2 separate regions of the Homo sapiens genome follow, and region 2 is linked to region 1. The links are contacts of gene promoters, found by promoter capture Hi-C in human tissues and cell types (Jung and others, 2019). All regions are on one chromosome and are shown on one strand. The core of a region is centred on a gene start or on the middle of the fragment in contact, and the rest is flanking DNA. Distances in the headings are between cores, read along the strand shown. Region 1 has its middle 43 kb from the start of OTOP1. Region 2 holds the start of OTOP1 (otopetrin 1).

The links. The method cuts DNA at HindIII sites, captures the fragments that hold promoters and counts their contacts. A contact is called where the count stands out against the background at its distance.
Region 2: the fragment with the promoter of OTOP1 here is called in contact with a fragment that was not itself captured in region 1 in 1 of the 25 tissues and cell types used here (lymphoblastoid cells).

The regions. Positions count from the first base shown.
Region 1 is chr4:4,180,107-4,187,568 of GRCh38, reverse strand. No RefSeq gene overlaps it. Among named protein-coding and RNA genes, the nearest start is that of OTOP1, 43 kb to the left of the region's middle. The HindIII fragment of the contact is 5,409 bases long and covers 279-5,687 here.
Region 2 is chr4:4,221,958-4,229,419 of GRCh38, reverse strand. OTOP1 (otopetrin 1) reads left to right here and starts at 2,491. Exons shown (of 6, transcript NM_177998.3): 1 at 2,491-2,958. The coding sequence starts at 2,556. RefSeq lists enhancers at 1,499-2,119, 2,741-3,361. The HindIII fragment of the contact is 12,453 bases long and covers 1-3,328 here.

The sequences.
Region 1 (7,462 bases), core at 1,734-4,233:
TTTCAGACAGTGCAGGCAATGGGACAGTAATAAATACAAAGTTTTTTTTAATATGACTAAAGTACACTTATTTTAGAAAAAACTAAAAAATAGGCATATATACTAAAAAACAAAGGAAAACATCATCTATACATGTCCCATCTAGAGAATCGGTTCTCCACCTGGGGACCTTGTTCCTTGAGGGGACATTTAGCAATATCTGAGGACATTTTTTAATATTTATTTTTTATTAAAATTAAAATAAATCTAAATTATGCATAATATTTGTACATACTTACAGGGTACATGTGATATTTTGATATAAACATATAATAAGTAATAATCAAATCAGGGTGACTGAGATATTCATACCCTAAAGTATATATCTTTTTTTGTGTTAGGAACAACGTAATTTCACTATGTTTGTTACTCTAAAATATACAATAAATTATTGTTAACTATAGTTGCGCTTTCGTGCTACCAAACACATTTTTGATTGTTACACTACTGCACCCATGGATACGGCTAACACCCTACAACATACAGGACAGCCCCACCACAAAGAGTCTTTGGGCTGATTGTCAATGGTGCTGAGGTAATCTAGAGGTAACTGCTGTTAAGTATTAGTACATGCACACAGGCTGGGCGTGGTGGCTCACACCTGTAATCCCAATACTTTGGGAGGCTGACGCGGAAGGATCGCTTGAGGCCAAGAGTTTAAGACCAGCCAGGGAACACAAACATAGTGAGACCCTGTCTGTACAAAAAACAAAACAAAACAAAACAAAAAACCCATTTGCGGTGGAGTATGCCTGTAGTCCCAGCTACTCATGAGGCTGAGTGGAGAGGATCACTTGAGCCCAGGAGTTTGAGATTGGGTAGTGAGCCAAGATCGTGCCACTGCATTCTAGCTTGGGTGACACAGCAGGACCCTGTCTCTAAAAAATAAAAATTAAAAAAAATTATATATATATATTTATTTTTATTTTTTTGAGACGGACTTTCACTCTTGTTGCCCAGGCTGGAGTGCAATGGCATGACCTTGGTTCACTGTAACCACCGCCTCCTGGGTTCAAGCGACTCTCCTGCCTCAGCCTCCGAAGTAACTGGGATTACAGATGCCTACCACCACGCCCAGCTAATTTTTGTATTTTTAGTACAGACAGGGTTTTACCATGTTGGCCAGGCTGGCCTCGAACTCCTGACCTCAGGTGATCCACCCACCTTGGCCTCCCAAAGTGCTGGGATTACAGACGTGAGCCACTGCAACCAGCTGATAATTTTTTTTTTTTTCAAAAGTATGCATACACCCACACCCACATGAAGGGGGTGGTTTTTATATATACTGCGTTTGTATGTAACTTGCTTTTTTCCTCTTGATACACCAGAGTGCTTCTTCCCTGTTTTGGGTCCCAGGCATCGACGCTCTGGCTTTAGTGTGCCTGAGACTCATCTGGGGAACTTGGTAGGATTCCTGCCCTCCAATATGGAAGTTCAGATTCAGTCTGGAGGGGGGCCCGGAAGTCTGCACTTTCATGAGTATCTCAGGGGATGCCAATTCCCTTTGAGAAGCATCTCCTTGGGAGTCCATGGACCACAAGCTAGGACTCCTGAGCAAGTTTCCTTGACATTGTATATCCATGTGCAGTATGATTTTGGGTGGCTTTAAAGTACACTCCATGGAAGGATGTACCATTCCTTATTTTTTCAAACCGTGATGTTGGACATTTAGAGATATTTAGGTGGTTCCTTTTTTTTGGTGCTACTGTAAACAATGCTATGGTGATCATCTTTGTAATTGAGTCTTTGAGGTCAGTGACAAACTGTCCTCTGGAGTGATTTACGCTGACTCAGCAGTGACTGAGTGGGAATACCGGTTTCCTCATTTTGGTTGGCATTACCTTTACCCCCATTCTAAGCACATTAGAACAGCCCTGAGGCCTCAGCTTTGGGTTTTGGGCTCTGCCAAGGAGAAGAAAAGGAGCCATCATTATGCTGGGAATGATGGATCCAGGTTGTGGGGATGCTATTGTGGACACATGGCAGCATCAGAGCTTGGAAAAGCCTGCATGGCTGGCTGCGCTCAGCGTTTCCAAGAAAGGATCTAAAGATGGATGAAGCATCTCTTATCCTCAACAGGCAGCCTCAGGGATGGCTATTTCAGCCAGGTGCTTTTTACCTCTAAGTAATTAAGCATCCTGATTCAACCAGCCTAGGTGGCAAGGAAAATTTACTATCTTAATGCCAAGGCAATTTGCCAAAGAGGAACCAGAATGTGCAATACACAAGTGTTAAGGTCTCAGGGATTAATACACGGAATACAAATTGAAATAATAATGAGTTACTACTTCCCATTCATTAGACTGGCAAGAGTTGGCAAGAAGTGAAAGAAAGACCCATATATACTGCTAGTGGGAGCGTAAATGAATAAAATCAGATTGGACAGCAATTGGCAATATTGACTAAGGCTGGAGGTACACATTCCTTATGAGCTAAGAATTCTGTTCCTTGGCATGTGCTCCAGAGACAGCCTCACACCTGTGTTCAGGAATGTGCACTCAGCATCACTTGTAATTAGGAAAATGGAAAACAGCCTAAATGCCTGTCAATTAGGAGTGCAGATAGGCACACCAGGGACTATTTCCATGATGGACTATTTCACAAAAGGAAAAAATGAACACAAGAGAATTCAGGTATCAACATGGATAGTCCCCCAAAACAATGTTGAATGAAACATTAAGTAGCGCAGGCATATAATTGGTATGATACCATTAATATGATGTCTAGGAACAAGCAAAACAATCCCTGATATTGCTGGGGGATATGTCCATATGCAGTAAGATTACAAACACACCTGAAGAAAGAATGCACGCCAAGTTCAGCGTAGTGAGAAGGGGAGGGGCTTGGAACCAGCAACTGATTTCATGCTGTGTCTGAAATACTTTTTCTTAAGCAAAGAGGTATTCATTATGTTTTCTCTGCACTCTTAAAACGTACTCTTTAAATATACTTTTAATGTATTTTAAAGAAACTTTAAATGAGATATTTCATAATACAAGTATTTGAGAGCAAGAAAAAAAGAAAGTCCATACAAGGAAGATGAACTTAGACACAGCTACCCAAGCAGGTAAATTTCCAGCATTCATCCATCATTGTTGAGAGATGGGTGTCAAAGCCAGTGGTGTTCTGTTCTCCTTGGCAGGTAAATCCCCAAGGTGGGGTAGCTCAATGCAATTAGCTGGTAAGATCACCGGACTCACTCTTCCACGGACGCCTCTGTGCACATTAGGAAACCTGACATTGGTTTGCCTTCCAATGTCGCTATTTGCTGTGGGGACAATGCCCCGGGCACACATATTATCAGGACAACCTGCAATGGACTGGATGTTTGTTTCCCCCTTAAATTCATATATTGAAGCTTAATGGCAATGTGGTGGTATTTGGAGGTGGGGTCTTTGGGAGGTAATGAGGTCATGATGGTAGGACCCTTGTGAATGGGATTAGCACCTGTAAGAGGGGGCCAGAGAGCTTGTGCACTTCTTTTCTGTCATATGAGGATGCAATGAGAAGACAGCTGTCTGTGACCCGGAAGAGGGCCCTCACCAGAACCCGACCATGCCAGCACTGGCACCCTGATCTTGGGCTTCCAGCCTCCAGACCTGTGAGAAATAAATGCCTGTTGTTGATTAGCCACTCAGCTTGTGCTGTTTTATTGTAGCAGCTTGCACTGAGTAAGTTATTCCCTTACCTGCTGTAACCGTATACAGGAGGGGCCTGTGCATTTGGTAGCTTGGGTTCTTCCCTGAGCCTGTGAAACTCAGATTTGAACTCATTTATTTTGGGTGCCATGACTCTTGTCGAGGCAGGGTGGAAGGGCACGGGCACGGAGCCAGATATCCAGGGTGACAACAGGCTCCCATGGTGCCTGAGTGTGCATTAAAAAAGCACCCCTTCCACAAGACTGTCGAACCAAACCCACCAGCATCTTCCTACCTGCCCATGCGCGGGAGGCAAATTAGACCTGTTTGTCTCCCCACCACAAATGTCGGCCAAAAGTTCCAACTGGAAAATGCTTGCTATTACCTTCCAGTTGCACGACCCTCTCAGCTAACGAAGCCCTTCTCGCATCCATCTCCCTCCACGCCTGCCTGTGAAGTCCCAGCTCACAGATGACCTGGTTAGGTAAGCACTGTTATTTTGTTTGAACAGAGGGAACCTTTGGATCACATGTACATAGCTAGTCAGTGGCAGCATTTGGTTCCTCATGCCGGTTTTAAAAACTCCATTGCCTTTTCTTTTCATTAGTCATATCATCTTATGAAGAAAGTCAACTCAGTAAAAATATCCTTCAAACAATAGCTCAGGGATATGCGTACAGAACAATCTAGTCAGCTGACAGAATATCTGGCTTTTCATCCAGTTATAAAATGCTGCACTTTGCTTAACATGGTGAAGAGTGAAAGCTGCTAACAGCTGGTTTCTTTCTCCAAAAATGTGAGCCCTGCTATGGGAGAGCGCAACCAGCAGGGGGCGCCAGCGCCTTTCCCTGAACTTCAGGGCAAGCTTGAGACCGGGGTACCTGGAGGGTGGGCAGTGGCCTCAAGGTACCAAACGAATGGGTGGGCGCAAGGTGTGCTGATTGGACTCCATTGGCTGCGCTGGGTTCCCGTAGCGTATGTGAGAGATACCTGTCACCACTTCCCGGCTAAGACCCAGCCAGTTCCAGCAAGGACGTTCCCTCCACCGGACCCACCAGGACCCACTCCCTGCAGGGCACTCTGGTCCCTCTCAAGAGGCTTTGGAGGAACTTGGGGGTTACAGGGTGTTCCCCTGATGGGAGAGTCCCTGGCATGCTGGGTGTGAGTGGGACTGAGTTGGGTGGGGGAGGCTGGGGAAGCTGGCTGGGAGGGCACTTGTGCTGGGTGTGATGGGGGAATGTAGGCGATGTTAGTTCCTCCTAAGAGTAGCCACCAAGAGGACTCTGGGGAGGGAGAGATGGGCACAGTGTTTTAACCCACAAATGGGAGGGTAATTCTGGCATGGTGGTTTCAGCAATGTTAGTAACACACGGACCACCATAACCATGATAGTGAAGCTACATGTCTGAAAAATGTAAATCAAATCAAGTCACCTGCTAAAAACGTTTCAGTATACAGAATTTTGCTGAAAGGTCAAGTTTCCAAGAGACTTTCAAAGATGTTAAGTGAGGACATACTGTACATCAAATTCATATCCTCTCCCGGAGTTCACGTGGAATTTCTTTATAAACTGCTTCTAGAGAGTCTGTTTAGGCAGGTTGTGTGTAGAGATCCGCGTCACCCGTCCTCAATCTTGGCTTTGAGTGAAATCACCTGCGGAGCTTACAAACGATGAGGCCTGGGTCTCGTTACATGAAATTCTGATTTCCTTGCACGTGTGTGAGTATGTGGGTTTTTTTTTTGTTTGTTTTTTGTTTTTAAGCACCAGAGGTGGTTCCAATGATGAAATTTTTAGAGGAATCAAGCTCCAATGAGTAAGAACAGAAGTTAATAGTAATATATCTTCAAATATGATTTTCAAATGCATTGTCCATCAACACTACACAAACGTTTATTATGCTGTTTTTTCTTACCGTTTAGCATTTCCTATTTTTTTCTTTTTCTTTTCTTTTTTCTTTTTGTGTGTGTTGAGGCAGAGTTTCACTCTTGTTGCCCAGGCTGGAGTGCAATGGCATGATCTCGGCTCACTGCAACCTCTGCCTCCCGTATTCAAGCGATTCTCCTGTGTCAGCCTTCCAAGTAGCTGGGATTACAGGCATGGGCTACCACGCCCGGCTAATTTTTTTTTTTTTTTTTGTATCTTTACTAGAGACAGTGTTTCTCCATATTGGTCAGGCTGGTCTTGAACTCCCGACCTCAGGTGATCTGCCCACTTCCACCTCCCAAAGTGGTGGGATTACAGGCGTGAGAGACCGCGCCCAGCCACCACTTAGCATTTTCATTTTACGTTTGTCGAAGTTATACATTTAGACACACATTGATTGCTGCTTTGTTTTACACTTGCATATACATAAAATGGGAAATAGAAAAGAATAAAATGGGCACAGTATCCCTGAAGTTTCACATTCCGGGACATTTTAAAAATATTTGCTTTTTAGAAATTGGTTTCAATTAAGAAACTGTGGTATACACACACAATGAAGTATTATTCAGCCTAAAAACGATTAAAATCCTCTCCACTGCAGACAAAATGGATGAGATTGCAGGTGTGTATTGTAAGTGAAACAAGCCAGGCACAGAATGACAAATATTTCATGTCCTCACTTATATGTAGGAACAAACAAGAAAATCTTGGCCAGGTGTGGTGGTTCAGGCCTGTAATCCCAGCACTTTGGGAGGCCGAGTCACACGGATCACTTGAGGCCAGGAGTTCAAGACCCACCTGGCCAACATGGTGAAACCCCGTCTCTCCTGAAAACACAAACAATTAACCCGGCGTGGTGACAGGTGCCTGTAGTCTCAGCTACTCAGAGGGCTGAGGCCCAAGAAGTGCTTGAACTCGGAAGGTGGAAGTTGCATTGAGCCCGGATTGTGCCTGTATACTCCCACCTGGGCAACAGAAAGAGACTCCATCACACACCTACACACAAAAGGAATCTCAAGAAGGCGGAAAGTATAAAGGTGGTTTTCCTTTATACTTGAAAAGGCTTTTCACTAGGAAGAAAACGGGTGGGATGGGGAAGGAAGAGAAGTGGATAATTGGGTCCCAAAATACAGAAAGATGGAATAAGTGAGTTCTAGTGTTTGATAGCACAGTATGAAAATTTTAGTTCACAAGAATTTCTTGCATATTTCCAGATGCTTTGGTAAGAAGCTTCCTAACTTTCTCATTATGCTGGTTTGTAAGCTATTCTCTTTCTGTTCTTGAAATCGTGCTGCTTTCTTTCTTTTTTTTTTTTTTTTTTGAGATGGAGTTTCACTCGTGTTGCCCAGGCTGGAGTGTAATGGTGCAATCTTGGCTCACCGCAACCTCTGCCTCCTGGGTTCAAGCGATTCTCCTGCCTGCACCTCCCGAGCAGCTGGGATTACAGGCATGCCCCAGCACGCCCAGCTAATGTTGTATTTCTAGTAGAGATGGGGGTTTCACCCTATTGGTCAGGCTGGTCTTGAACTCCTGACCTCAGGTGATCCACCCGCCTCGGCCTCCCAAAGTGCTGGGATTACAGGCATGAGCAACCGTGCCCGGCCCATGCTGTATCCTTATCTGTCATCTGTCGTTGTTTGCTTGTTTTGGAGCCCAGAAATAACTTCTCACCTATATGCTCAAATGACTTTTAACCTGAGTGCTAAGAAAGTTCATTGGTGGAAAAGCAGCCTTTTCAAGAAATGGTGTTGGAGAAACTTGATTTCCACATGCAGAAGAATGAAGGTGGACCCTATGTCACACCAGGTGCAAAAATTAACACAAACTGGATCAAAGACCTAATCCCAAGCGCTAAAAGTAT
Region 2 (7,462 bases), core at 1,242-3,741, 42 kb before region 1:
GAGCTTTATTTATCTTTGTACTCAACGGGTTAAGGTACTGCTAGCTGCTGTAACATTTCAGACTTTGGTGGCTTAGCACAATGGAAGTTTATTTCTCACTGATGTAAGGTCCAGCTTCGGGAGGAAAAGCCGCCTCACTAGTCACTGGGGAGACACGCAGACAGGCTCTTCCATCTTCAGCTCAGGCTCCCAGGTTGCTCTGGCTGTTGGTAGGAAGAGGAGGGGAGAAGGTGGAGGGTCCCTAGTAGGTTTGCTGGATCTTCTCTCTGGATTGCCTTTCCAGACCCCTGCTCCCTTCCGCCTGACCATCCACTCCTAAGCCTAAAGAATGTGCAGGAGGCTGGACGTGGTAGCTGGAGCCTGTGATCCCAGTGCTTTGGGAGGCTGAGGTAGGAGGATGGCTTGAGCCCAGGAGTTTGAGATCAACCTGAGCAACATAGTGAGACCCGTCTCTACAAAAAAACAATTTAAAAAAAATGAGCCAGGCGTGGTAGCACACACCTGTAGTCCCAGCTATTCGGGAGGCTGAGGCGGGAGGAGCACTTGAGCCCCAGAATTCGAGGCTGTAGTGAGCCATAATCACACCACTTCATTCCAGCCTGGGAGACACAGGGAGACCCTGTCCTTATTAAAAGATAAAAATAAGAGAAAGAAAGAAAGAAAGAAGACTGTGCAGGTGTTGCCTCCTCCCTGAACCTCTCAGCCTTCCTGCAGACCTGGACTCCTCCCAGGCCCCTGGTTGTAGCCCTGCTCAAGGGTGTTGTGCTGCTTACTCTGTCCCCACTCCCAAGCTCTTAGAAGTTGAGGGCTAAGTCTCACAGGTCATGATCCCCAGCTTCCCAGTGAGGGCTCATTAGCTGTTTGTTTATTGCTGTTTCTCTACCTGAACATCAGCTCCACCTGAGCAGAGCCTTTCATAGCTGAAAACCCAGCTGCTAGAACAGAGAGCAGCAAATGATTCATAGGTCAACACATACATATGTGTTGATCAAATGCATGAATGCGTGAATTGGAAGAATGATGGTGGCAAGGTAAGGTCCCCCAGGTTGACTCCTTGCTAGCCCAGGACTCCCCACCCCTCCTTTACTAGTCAGGACCTGCTATTGCAATTTGCTGCGCTTAGCGCAAAACAAAAACATGGGCCCTCTTGTTCAAAAATTAAGAATTTCAAGACGGCAAGAACCTTAAACCAAGAGCGAGAGGGTGTCTTCCGGGCCCAGCCCCGGGCTGCTGCACGGTGGGATGTGGGCTTGCCCCAGGCTCGCTCCCAACTCCCCTCTCCAACCTGCGGCTGGGGGGCTGGGGTCCGGCGCCTCCTGTCAGCCACGCCAGACCCGTAGAACGCTCTTCAGCTGAAACTTCCCAGACCTCCACTTAGCGGCACCCGAGCGGGGCTCCCTGGCAGACTCAGTCCCCTTCCGGGAGCAGGCGGGTGCCAGGCGGGCACCGGGGCTTTGGAAGGGGCTAGTGAAGACGCTTGGGCGCCGGTAGCAACAGGGCAGACCCCGGGGCGTCCCTCATTCCAGCTCCTCTGGGTCCAGAACGGCTGCCGCTCCTTTGGGGGAGGGTGCGGGATGGTCTCTTTTCTTAGAAAGTGGCTCAGGTCTTATTCTGCGCCTGGGCATCTCGCAGCCGACACACAGGCACACCAGACGGACAAACAGAAAAACCCACAGAAGGCGGCCCCTCCCCCAATTCAGAGAGCCAGTGACGGGCGCTCCTCCACCCCTAACCAGACACACCCGATAACAGACGGCCAGACACAGAGTGACCCGCACAGAGAAGACAATACAGAAATACGCAGGGACGAGTACAGACCGTCGGACGCTCGGACACGGACGCAGGCAGGATCCCCTGGACCTCTGGGTTCCCCAACGGAGACCCTCGGGGAAGGCCCGGAGCATCGCAAGCCCCTGTGGAGCCCCGGACGCCCCGCTTGGCAGCAGCCACGCCCCCCGCGCACACCCCCCTCGGGCTGGCTCCGGGAGACCCCCTCTCCCCAGTCCCGCAACCCCGGGACCCCGGCAGGCACTTCTTGTCACCCAGCGTTTCCGGGGCGCCCGGACAGGGGCTGGGTGGGCGGGCGTCGGCTCAGGGGTGAGGGCTGCAGACGGCGGGCGGGGGCCGGGCGCGCGGGCGGAGGTGCGGGAGGACGCGCTAGTGTCGCGGCAGGGCTGGCCAGTGTCCCAGGGATCAGGAGCGGGGAGCTGTCCGCGTGGGTCCCGGAGGGGGCAGATGGCTGCCCCGGGCGTTGCCCAGTGAGGGGCAGCGGGCAAGGGAGCTCGTAGAATCCCAGGTCAGCAGGGTGGGGCGCTGGGTAAGTGGACAGGGTGGTACCTTGACGGAGGACGAAGGGGCAGAAGAGGGGAGGGCGGGCGTCGGGAGGTGACAGGAGAGGGGGCAGGTTGGCAGGGGCGTGGGGTAGGAATCGGAAGGGAGTTGAAAAGGGAGGTGCTGGTTGGCAGAGGCGTCGGGGCAAGGACAGGAGCCAGGAGCGCAGGCGGGGCCCGACGGCAGCCACCCCCGGGACCAGACTTGGCGCGGGTGTCTCGAAGATGCTCGAGGGCCTGGGGTCGCCCGCCTCGCCCCGGGCAGCTGCAAGCGCCTCGGTCGCAGGGTCGTCGGGGCCAGCGGCCTGCTCGCCTCCCTCGTCCTCGGCCCCGAGGTCCCCGGAATCCCCGGCCCCCCGGCGGGGCGGTGTGCGCGCCAGCGTCCCACAGAAACTGGCCGAGATGCTGAGCAGCCAGTATGGGCTGATCGTGTTCGTGGCGGGGCTGCTGCTGCTGCTGGCCTGGGCCGTGCACGCCGCGGGCGTGAGCAAGAGCGACCTGCTGTGCTTCCTGACGGCGCTCATGCTGCTGCAGCTGCTGTGGATGCTGTGGTACGTGGGCCGCAGCTCCGCGCACCGCCGCCTCTTCCGCCTCAAGGACACGCACGCGGGTGCCGGCTGGCTGCGCGGTGAGTCCAGGCGCCGGGCGAGCGGGTCTCCGCCTCCTCGCCCGCTGGCTGCATCCTGAGGCTGCTCTGCGCCCTTCCTACCGCTGCCGTCTTCCCTTCAGCCTTTTCTGCCTTGGTCTCTCTGTGCATCTTTCCTAGCTTTCCTGTCTGCCCTTCCTTTCCTCTCTCTCTCTCTGAAGCTTGGGTCGCCGCAGGAGCCTCCTCTCCGCCTCCAGACGCTTCCATCATTACAGCCACAGTTACAGAAACCTCTCTTGTCCTTCCCTGACTTAAAGCCATGCAGTGGCCCTACTGACCCCATGATGGAGGCCACGCTCCCTCTCCTGACACTCAGAGCCTTCTAGCACTCGGCCCCCGAGGGCCCGTTTCCTTTGATCCCCTCCTTTGTTCTCATCCTGTGCTGGGGTCATTCTCGCGAACTTTCTCGCCCATCGCAGGACCTCTGCCTCTGCACATTCGGCACCTTCGGTTCTCTCCTCCAGGAATGTCTTTTCCACTTTCCCACCTGCCCCTCTGCTTTCCGAGACAGGGCTCAGGCCTCACCCCATTCTCCCCGCGAAGCTTCTCCGACCCCCTTCTCCTCCCGGCTTTGCAGGTCTGACCACATGCCCCCAGCCCGCACTGGGCTCCAGTGTTCTTGTCAACATGTCTGTACCCTCCACTCCACTGGGGAGCTCTGTGATCCCTGTCTCTCGGTCCTAGAGCCACCTCAGGGCCTGGCACGAAGTGGGTGTTGAGAAAATGAGGGGGTATGAATGAAATAATGAATGCGTGGATGCAGGGTGGGGCAAAGAGGGATAGAGGCTCCTGCTGGTACTCACAGGCATTGGCTGAAATTGTCAAGATAGGAGCTCTTTCTTCCTCAAGGGGCTGCCACATTTTTTTTTTTTTTTTTGAGACAATGTTGCTCTATCTCCCAGGCTGGAGTGCAGTGGCACAATCACAGCTCACTACAGCCTCTTCCTCCTGGGCTCAAGCAATCCTCCCACTTCAGCCTCCTGAATAGCTGGAACTATAGACACACATGGCCTTGCCCAGCTAAGTTTTGTTATATTTTGTACAGATAGGGCCTCGTTGTGTTGTCTCCTTTTCTCAAACTCCTGGCCTCCAGGGATCCTCCTGCCTTGGCCTCCCAAAATGCTGGGATCACAGGCATGAACCACTGTGCCTGGCTGGGGCTGCCAGTCTTGAATGGGAGACAGACATGGTGCAGGTGAAAGGGAGGAGGCCATGGGGAGCATGCTTGTGAAGAAAGCTTCTGTCTGAGTAACCTTCCCAGGAGAGGCCAAGTGCATTTCACACCACGTGGTCCAGGCACATCACACATTGCCACTTGGACTCTCATATTAGACCTGAATTTAAATCTCCATTAGAGTGGGGCTTCCGTGTTCCTTGCATGCATGACCTTGGGCAAGTTACCTGATTGCCTTCCTTACCCTGAACCCTGGTTTCAGCATCTGTAGAATGGGGATCTCAAACTGGATAAGATCCAGTGACTGATGAGGTGGCTGCCCAGCACACACTAGGCCTCCTTTCCACATTTCTTTCAAAGGTCCTGGCCAGATGCCACCTTCTTCACAAATGCCTGGCAGGAATTACTCCTCACTTCTATGGGCCACCATGGCCCCCTTTCTGTAAAGCTCTTTTGGTCCTTGTCCGTTTCTGCCTTGTATTATGACTGTTGGATATTAGCCTTACCATCCAGAAGAGATTTTAGACTTCTTAGGCTCAGGGACTGGATCTAGTTCATCTTGCTTTTGGGGAAATTTGACACCATTGCAGCGTGGCCCAAATTCCTGTTCTGAAAATGGTTGTTTTAGGGAAGTTAATGGTTTTGTGACTCTGTGAATGACAGTGAATCTGGTGCTATTTAAAACAAGGCACAAAGTGTTATTTTAGGATATTGACTTACACAGGCTAAAAAGTATTATACACATGAGCCTTTACCTGTGTTTTCCTATAGTCAAAGCCCCTTTTTTGTTCCTTCTTTCTCTCCTCCATCCTTTTTTCTCCCTTCTTCCTTCCCTCCTTCTCCTTTCCTTTCTTCCTCCTCCCTCCCTCCCTATTCCCTCGCCTTCCCTCCTCTCTGCCTTTCCTTCTTTATTTTTTTTTTTTGAGATGGAGTCTTGCCCTGTCGCCCAGGCTGGAGTGCAATGGTGCGATCTCGGCTCACTGCAACCTCCACCTCCCGGGTTCAAACGATTCTCCTGCCTCAGCCTCCCAAGTAGCTGGGATTATAGGCGCCTGCAACTATGCCCAGCTATTTTTTGTATCTTTAGTAGAGACGGGGTTTCATCATGTTGGCCAGACTGGTCTCAAACTCCTGACCTCGTGATCTGCCTGCCTCAGCCTCCCAAAGTGCTGGGATTACAGGTGTGAGCCACCATGCCTGGCCTCCCTTTCCTTATTTTTTTCCTCATTTTCTTTCTCTCTTCTCCTCCTTCATCTTTCCTTCCTCTCTTCCTTCCTCCATCCTTCTCTCCACTGTCCCTCTTCCCTCTCTCTCTCCTCTCTTTCTCTTCCTTCCTCTCTTCCTCTCTCCCCTGCTGTTTTTGTTTTTGTTTTTGTTTTTGAGATGGAATCTCACTCTGTTGCCAAGGCTGGAGTCATGGGTCACTGCGACCTCCACTTCCTGGGTTCAAGTGATTCTCCTGCCTCAGCCTCCTGAGTAGCTGGGACTACAGGTGCACATGCCACCACACCCAGCTAATTTTTGTATTTTTTAGTAGAGACAGTGTTTCACCATGTTGGCCAGGTTGGTCTCAAACTCCTGAGCTCAGGTTATCTGCCTGCCTTTGCCTCCCAAAGTGCTGAGATTACAGGCATGGGCCACCACGCCCGGCCTGGTGCATTTAGAATGTTCCTCCTTCTCCTTCTCCTTCTGCTCCTCCTTCTTCTTTTTTTCTACTCAGTCTGTGCTTATCCAAGAAATGCTCTTCCTTATGTTGAAGTGCAGTTAACTTCCTAGAACCATCATCCTCTTCCCCAGAGCTTCTATCATCATTCACTTATTCATCATCCATCCATCCATCCATCCATCCATCCATCCATCTGTCCGTCCATCCATCCATCCATGTTTTTTTGTTCTTCCTCTCTCTCTGCCTCCTTTCAGGTTGACTCCGAGCATTGGCACCTGAGTCTATGGGTGAATGGTTGCACCATTTCCCAAGATTGGGAAGCCAAAGGGAAGAGCAGGGTGGGGACACAAAACCAATGACATGTTACATTTCTCCTATGGACATGCTATGTTTGAGGTGTCTTTGGGACACTAAGTAGAGAGGGAATAAATGGGCAAGGTAGAGAGAGCACGTGATAGGTGTTCAGTAGATGACAGCTGTTTAGACATTCAGTGAGTTGCCCCATAATAATGTAATTCAAATGAGGTGTGTGTATCATGGAAATGGTGTTGGCTCTGGAAGGTTTGGCTTGAGGTCTCAGCTCTATCACCGTCACCTTTCTGAGTCCTGCTTTCCTCATCAGTAAGATAAGAATCCCAGCTGCCTCTCTGGGAGGAGCTGGGGGATGTTGAGAGAAGCAGTTTGCAAAGCCCTGGCCATTCCTGTGGGTTCCTCAAAGAAGCAAGAAGCTAATTATTAGTGTTGGGAGGCCCTGGTGCCAAAAGGAAGCACCTTCAGCCCCAACAGGGACTGGGGTTTCCTCTGGAATTCTAGCTAGAAAGACAGGTTTGACTCAGGAACTCAGCTCTGCCCTGGTGTTCGTGACAATCTTAGATCAATAGGCAGAGGGCAAGTCCCTCAGGAAAAAGAGCAGTGATCCCCAAGATCCATTCTGGGGCCACTATGAGGGTCTTGCTTAACTCCATGCATTTTCTTACATATTTGTTTTCTTAGATGATATTTCTGGTCCAGTGGAAAATATAGACATAGTGTCATGATTTCAACACAAACAAGCGAATGTGGCTGCCAAAAAATCAGATGCGGGCTTGGCTTTCATTGGAAAGGAAATCAGACTGTGTGTGGAGGGTCTCATCCTCCTTGAGCATTTCACAGGCCACTGGAAAGAGTGGCGGCAGGAGGAGCAAAAGGAGGGTCAGTCCAGAAGAGAGAAGGATGCGGAGGTCACAGGGTAGAAAGTGCTGCTGCCTTGCACCTGTCAGCTCCAGGCCATCCTCTGTCTTTCAGCAAGCAAGAGTCATTTCCTCTGGGAAGCCTCTCCCGATAGTTTCAGACCAGGGGCAGCCCCCAGGTTGTATGGTCTCATAGCACTCTTCATTTTCTTTCTAGCACTAATCAAGCAGGAGATTGTATTATTCAGTGACTGTTGGGGTAGCCAGACTGAGCCCCTAAAGGCAGAGACCCTGTCTGTGCTTACCGTTGTATCCTGAGCTCCTGGCACAGTGCCTAACATGTAGTAAATGCCAATTCGTGTCTACTAAATAATTGAATGATTGAATGATTGGATGGATGGATGGATGACTAGATGGGTGGATGAACAAGTGAAGATAGAAGCTCCAGGGAAGAAGATGATGGTTCTGGGAAGTCAA